2 separate regions of the Homo sapiens genome follow, and region 1 is linked to region 2. Evidence: promoter capture Hi-C in 16 types of primary human blood cells and fetal thymus (Javierre and others, 2016). All regions are on one chromosome and are shown on one strand. Each heading gives the region's core, a stretch centred on a gene start or on the middle of the fragment in contact. The rest is flanking DNA. Distances are from core to core; before and after follow the strand shown.

What was found. Contacts are between HindIII fragments. The CHiCAGO score rates a contact against its expected background, and 5 or more counts as called.
Region 1: a fragment that was not itself captured here is called in contact with the fragment with the promoter of DNAH8-AS1 in region 2 in 1 of 17 cell types (naive CD8 T cells); the score reaches 5.3 in naive CD8 T cells.

Annotation. Positions count from the first base shown.
Region 1 is chr6:39,285,214-39,288,926 of GRCh38, forward strand. No RefSeq gene overlaps it. Among named protein-coding and RNA genes, the nearest start is that of KCNK17, 27 kb to the right of the region's middle. The HindIII fragment of the contact is 3,820 bases long and covers 129-3,713 here.
Region 2 is chr6:38,951,286-38,954,707 of GRCh38, forward strand. It overlaps DNAH8-AS1 (DNAH8 antisense RNA 1), which reads right to left and starts at 1,822. Exons shown (of 5, transcript NR_038401.1): 1 at 1,763-1,822. DNAH8 (dynein axonemal heavy chain 8) reads left to right here. Exons shown (of 93, transcript NM_001206927.2): 82 at 33-235. The HindIII fragment of the contact is 10,031 bases long and covers 1-3,422 here.

The DNA of each region.
Region 1 (3,713 bases), core at 789-3,288, 330 kb after region 2:
AGGGAGCCCTTGTAGGTTGGGGATGGGACCAGGAGGAGGTGTTGTGAAAGAGGACCTGGCATGCAGGTCATCCATAAATATTGGTTGAGTTGAATTGAAATAAACACCCAAATAGATATATAATGACAAGCTTGCATGGTAAGTGCCATGAGATTTCAGGGAGATGTGAGGACCTACGAAGCGGGTTATGGCCTCTTTCTGGGAAGCCCTGTAAGGAGATGGCCTGGAGCTGAGCTCTACTGGAGAGGAGAGTGGGTGTGTGGGATGGGGTGAGTGGAGGCTCTGCCCATGTTCTAGGCAGTGTCTGAGGAACCAGGAGAGCTGATACCTACTGCAGAGAGGGGAGAGCAGAGTATGGTGGTGACAGAGAAGCCAAGGCAGGCAAGGTAGGTGGAGAAGCCAAGGCAGGCAAGGTGGCCTGGAGGCCATGTTTGGGGTTTTGCACATTGTCCTGGGAGCAATGGGAAATTATTGAGGCATTTTTGGCAGAGGCAGGACAGATCAGTTCTGTCTTTTTAGAAGGCTTCTGTGACAGCTGCGTGGAGAATGGATGGGAGGGGGCTCTTGTGAGATGGAGAAAATGGTAGTGTGAAACTGCGTGGTGGCAGTGAAGCTGGGGAGAAGCGGCCAGAACTTAGAGGTCAAACAATAGGATTTTGCACTGAATTGGCAGTGAGGGGTTGGGAGAAAGAGGTCAAGCATTCATTCATTTACCAGTCACAAAACAGCTCCTGGGTGCCCACCACACGCCAGAGACAGTCAGGAGCTAGCAAAGTCCCATCCTCCTGAAGTTTATCTTCTAGTGGGTTTTGTTTTTTTAAAAATGGGCTTATTGAGATATAATATACATACCACACAGTTTACCCATTTAAATTGTACAAGTCAATGGTTCTTAGTATAATTCATAGATATGCGCCAACTTCAACACAGTCTATTTTAGAACACTTTCTTTTTTCTTGAGACAGGTTCTCCCTCTGTTTCCCAGGCCAGAGGGTAGTGGTAAGATCACGGCTCACTGCAGCCTCAACCTCCTGGGCTCAAGAGATCCTCCTGCCTTAGCCTTCTGAGTACCTAGAAACACAGGTGTGTGCCACCATGCTCCATTAATATTTTTCTATTTTTGTAGAGATGGGGCCTCAACATGTTGCCCATGCTGGTCTTGAAATCCTGGACTCAAGCTCTACTCCTCCATCAGCCTCCCAAAGTGCTGGGATTACAGGCATGAGCAACTACTCCTGGCCACTTTCTTCACCTCAAGAAGAAACCCTGGACCAGGCGTGGTGGCTCACGCCTGTAATCCCAGCACTTTGGGAGGCTGAGGCGGGCGGATCACCTGAGGTCAGGAGTTTGAGACCAGCCTGACCAACATAGAGAAACCCCGTCTCTACTAAAAATACAAAAATACCAGGTGTGGTGGCGCATGCCTGTAATCCCAGCTACTCGGGAGGCTAAGGCAGGAGAATTGCTTGAACCCGGGAGGCGGAGGTTGCGGTGAGTTGAGATCATGCCATTGCACTACAGCCTGAGCTCGAAACTCCATCTCAAAAAAAAAAAAAAAAAAAAAAGAAGAAGAAGAAACCCTGTATCCTTTAGTTATCACTTCCTTTTTTTTTTTTTTTTTTTTAAGACAGGGTCTCACTCTGTCACCCAGGCTGGAGTGCAATGGTGCAATCTCAGCTCACTGCAACCTCTGCCTCCAGATTTCAAGGGTTCAAGCGATTCTCGTGCCTCAGCCTCCCTAGTAGTTGGGATTACAGGCAGGTGCCCGCCACTACACCCGGCTAATTTTTGTAGTTTTAGTAGAAATGGGGTTTCACCATGTTGGCCAGGCTGGTCTTGAACTCCTGACCTTAGGTGATCCACCCACCTTGGCCTCCCAAAGTCCTGGGATTACAGGCATGAGCCACCGTGCCCGGCCTTGTTATCACTTCCTATTCCACCCCTCTTTCCCCACCGCCAGCCCTAAGCAACTACTAATCTACTTTTACCCTCTATAGATTTCCCTGTCTGGGCCTGTTTTGGAGGTAAGATCATGTTTATGACCTGGGGCATTGTGGTAGAAACTCCTGATTTCTCCCACTATTCAATCTTTTACCTTTTCATAACATAATCTCACTATTTAGATGGGCACTTTGTCACCTGCTAAGAGATTACATTTCCCAGTTTCCATTGAAGGGAGATGTGACTGTGCTACCAAGTTCTAACCAATGAAATGTAAGAAACTGTTCCACTGGCTGTTTAATAAAGAAATCTCCTTAAAATGGTGTGGAGTGTGGCGTGTGTTCTTCTCCCCTTTTTCCTTCTTCCTTTCTGACTGAATGCAGACCAGATGGCTGGAGCTCAAGCAGCCATCTTGAACCACGAGATGATGCAGAAGGGGATGATGCTGACTGCTTAGCTCTAGGAACTCAAAGGAGAAATCTGATTCAGAGATAACAATTTGAGAGACACCGAACTGTAGTTAGTCGTTGAAATCTTGGCAGGGTACTTCATGACTTAGGGAGCAAACAGAGAATGAGAAAAGAAGATGGCCTAAGGCTGAGCCTTGAGGAAAATCAAGGTTTACAGAAGAGATGAGCTGGCAATGGAAATTCCAGTTAAGGGCTCCAGCCTCCACCGGCCATATTATAGGGTCTTTAGTGTCTTCCTCTGCAACTCCCTTATCTGTAACTATCAAGATTCTTAGAGATTTACTCAGCCCTGAAGGGCTAAGTCCTGAGTTTCAGCACCAGGGAGAACTAGAGCTATATAACCCAAATATGTCCACAAATCTCAAGGCCACAGGTCACTATTATAAATTGGTACTGCACGTTCCTCTCCCTGAATATCTCAAAGGATTTATGCAAATTGATCCGCCTCTTCCCCTAAGCGCTGAACAATGGATGCTTCGTTGCCCAACATTTGAGTATCTAAATGCTCTCCAGAAGTGACTCTTTGCCGGACAAAGAGGGACAGTTGTCCTCCATTTCAGGAAGGAAGGAAAAAACCAAGACGGGAAAGAAGGAGACAGAAAGGAAGACAGCAAAGAAAAAACGAAATAAGGAAAGAGGGAAAAAATACAGACAGATTATCGTGCTATACCTGAAAAGGTGTGGCCAGGTAGGCAGGAGGAAACCCAGGAGACCCGCAGCCACACAGATGCCAAGCTGCTGAGAGGGGCAAGTAAGGTGAGGTTGGAAAGTGTCTCCCGGACTTTGTAACATGGAGGTCTGCCCTCGCAGAGATGTTTTGGGGTCAGACTCGGCGCTGGAGTGGGTGAGGAGTGTGGCCAGACGAGGAAGCAGGGTTAAAGGCTGTCTTTGGAGGCACTGCCAGGTGGTGTGAACACCCAGAGCTTCCAAGTCAGGCTGGAGGCTGGCTTGAATGCTGGCCCCAACATCACCATCTCACTGAAATGAGTTAACATTTCCGGGCACACGGTAGGTGTTGAGAAAGCAGTAGTTTCATTTTTATCCCTGTTTCCCACTAAGGGTACCCATGGGCAGTTCCATTCTGTGGGTGTTGGTTACTGTAGGCCAAAATGAAATGTCCAGTGGCACTATGTCTTTCTATCTTCCTCTAGCAGGTCAGTCCAGAAATGTCCTTGTGGCTATGGGAGAGAGGGAAAAAGAGAGAGAGAGAGATTGAGAATAAACAAGTCAATTTCACAAATACTTTCAAGCCCAATTGGCTAAAGCAAATCCCATGGCCAAGCCCATACAGCCTGAGTGAGA
Region 2 (3,422 bases), core at 572-3,071:
GTTTATTTCGCCTAACTTGTATTCATTTTTAGGTCTTGGTGCCCAGACCGTACTGTTTTTCAAGCAAGAAAGTATATTGCAGATTCTTTGGAGGAGAAGTACACAGAACCAGTTATCTTAAATCTGGAGAAAACTTGGGAAGAAAGTGATACCCGGACACCTCTGATATGCTTCCTGTCCATGGGATCTGACCCCACCAATCAAATTGATGCATTGGCCAAGAAACTGAAACTGGGTAAGACTAGCAATCTACAAAATGTAGCAACACTTCCATATTTTTTTGCCCCAAATTTTGCCTTTCGTAATTTTATAACTGATTCTTAGAAATAGATGTAAAACTGAATTCGAAAAATATTAAACTTATTCCTCTTTCATCCTTTCATACCTCCTAAAGTGAGGGTATGATATAGGTATCTTTGTTTAGAGAAGAACATGCTCATCTAGCATATAGTGTTTTTTTTTTGATTGGTTGTGTTTTAAGTTCTAAGGAGATAGCTGTATTGCATGGATAGCTGACTAACAAGAATGAACACACAATAGCCAAAGTTTATGTTATTGCCATGTCTATATAAAATTACAGCAAAGTTTATTTTGTCACAAATTAAAAAACTATAACCATTATTGTAATGCATAGTAGTTAGGGATTAATTATTTCATTGCTTTCACTTAATAACCATTCAGTACAGGCAGTGTGCTAGATCTGGGGAGCACAGAGATGAATACAACACAGCTGGGAAAGACAGACACGTAAACATGTAATTGAAGGCAATGTGACAACTGCAGTAAATGTTTCATAGAAGTGGCTGATCACAGGATTCAGAGCTACTCGGATTGCCTGGGGTATAGGGGAAAACATCACATTGATGATATTTGAGTAGGAAATTAAAAAATAGATAAAATTTACCAGGTGGGGTGGTGGGAGATAGAAAGTTACTCCAGGGAGAGGAGATGGGAAAGAAGTTATAAACACAGAAGTGTTTATAAGTGTGACTGAGTCAGTAGGATTAAAGGACAGGGATGCAGAGCACATCTTGACAGGACTGAGCCATCCTGTAAGAAGGACTTTCTTGACAGGACTGAGCCATCCTGTAAGAAGGACTGTTTATCCCTTGCTTCATTCATACTCTGAAAATCGGAATGCTGTTGACATTGGCATTTGCAATCTTCTAGGGTCAGGTATCTGTAACTATACCTTGTAGGGTTAATCCAATCATGTCTTTTGAGTATTACAGTGATTGATTATGAATCACTAAATCTATCCTGTGAAGTAAAATTACATTAAATTTATTACATAGTCGACATAAGCATGATATAAAATCAATTCAGTCATGTCCACGTACTAGCCACATGTCCCTCTGCATAAAACCAAGCTACGGTAGCATGGTCCATGTTCATGTTCTCTTTTCTCATCTTGACTTCACTCTATTTGTTGTCACCACACTGTTCTATATTCTCAGTGGATCAGTGTTCAAATGGCCACGGTCTTCTGTCTGAACACTGATACCAATGCAAAGAGCTCCCAGGTTCTATTGGCAACTGCTCATGGTTAAGTCTCATTCGCTATCTTCAAAGTAGGCAGTTTTGCTCTAGTATTTACTGCAGCACACCAGCCGTCTGAGTTTATCTCAGAGTGATGCCTCTCGAGTAGCCTTATAGTTTGCAAATCTCTCTCAAATCTGTTGCTCTATGAGTGTTTATCCAGCTGCCTCTAAGCCTCACTTCTCTCTGCACACAGGTATATTTTTTCTCTCTTAACACTTACCATTCTTCTCCACATGGCAGAACATGTGGCTTCTAGTGGCTCATGGGCTTCACTGCTTACGTGCTCAGAATGTTCAGCACCCTCAGGGAAACTCCTCTTATTGTCATGGTTCCAAGTTCCAATATCCAGGGAAGTAACTCATTGTCTTTGCTTTGGTCATGCACTCCTTTCTGGGCCAATCAATGAACTGTCGCTCTGGAGATAGGTTCCTAGTAGAAACCTTATGTACAGAGCTGGAATGGGGGACATTTCTTAGAAGATACAACGCCTAGAAGAAGGAGTATTCAACTAGAGTTACCATTTCAAATGTTGTAATTTGAGAACATAATTAAAAAATTCAAGGTCTCCTTTGGGAGAAATTATAACTGACATTAAATGAATGCAGAAGGGCAGACTTGTGTTATATCCTTTAGTGTTATCATACTGCTTTGCTTGGCAATTTGGTGGTTTCCGTTTCTTGGTCCTACCTTACTTTTTCCAACAACAATCCAGGCTTCTATTGATTACTTTATTAGGGTACTGGAACAACATAGATTTGGCTTTAACACTGAAGGATCAAATGAATTTTATAAACAATTCTACTGCCAAATCATTTGAGCAGTATTAGGAAGTCTCAGGCTGCTTGCTGCTTTGGGTTGAAAGTCCCAAAGATAGCTGTTAAAATGGAACTATTACACATACCGAACAACATGTTAATGTAGTCTCAGCTATTAATATTTTATTTGAAAATCTGGATAATAAATAATCATAGAATGCTTCAGGTGAATGTGACTGGAAATCTTGAAATCCAATTACTTTTTTTTTTTTTTTTAACAGTTGGGGGAAACTATGGTCTGGAGATAAGGCCCCAGACCTAGTCCGTGGCAGATCTGGTTCAGAACTTATCTCAGGAACCCCACTTCAGTGATCTCATTGGTCTTTCTTTTTCATTCCTTCTCATTGTTTTCATTGAATGAATTAACCAGCTACCCGAAAATAACATACGGATGGGACAGAATCAATAAGTTTTTGTAGAAAAAGAGGAGAAGGGAAACTTTGGTTATAGATATTGTCTTGTACTGGTCAAGATCTGTAGTGAGAAATTTGGAGCAGATAAACTCTGCACAGAGTACTGGGTACATGGGCAAAGTGGAGAAAGCAGATGGGTTTAGCACGAGAGCCTTTCTAGGAGCCTGACTACTGGAGGAGGGAGGTCTCAGAGGAAGGATGGGCTTAAAAAGAACACCTAAAAACAAACGAAAGAGAACAAATACATAAAACCCCACAACCACACAAAAGTAGTAGTGGGAAAACTGATATAACAATATGTACAGATGAAACATTTTAACATTTTAAATAATAAGAGAATGGCTCATAATTATAGTAATAAATTACAGGCCGGGCGCGGTGGCTCACGCCTGTAATCCCAGCACTTTGGGAGGCCGAGACGGGCGGATCACGAGGTCAGGAGATCGAGACCATCCTGGCTAACACGGTGAAACCCCGTCTCTACTAAAAATACAAAAATTAGCCGGGCATGGTGGCGCGCGCCTGTAGTCCCAGCTACACGGGAGGCTGAGGCAGGAGAATGGCGTGAACCCGGGAGGCGGAGCTTGCAGTGAGTCGAGATCGCGCCACTGCACTCCAGCCTGGGCGACAGAGCGAAACTCCGTCTCAAAAA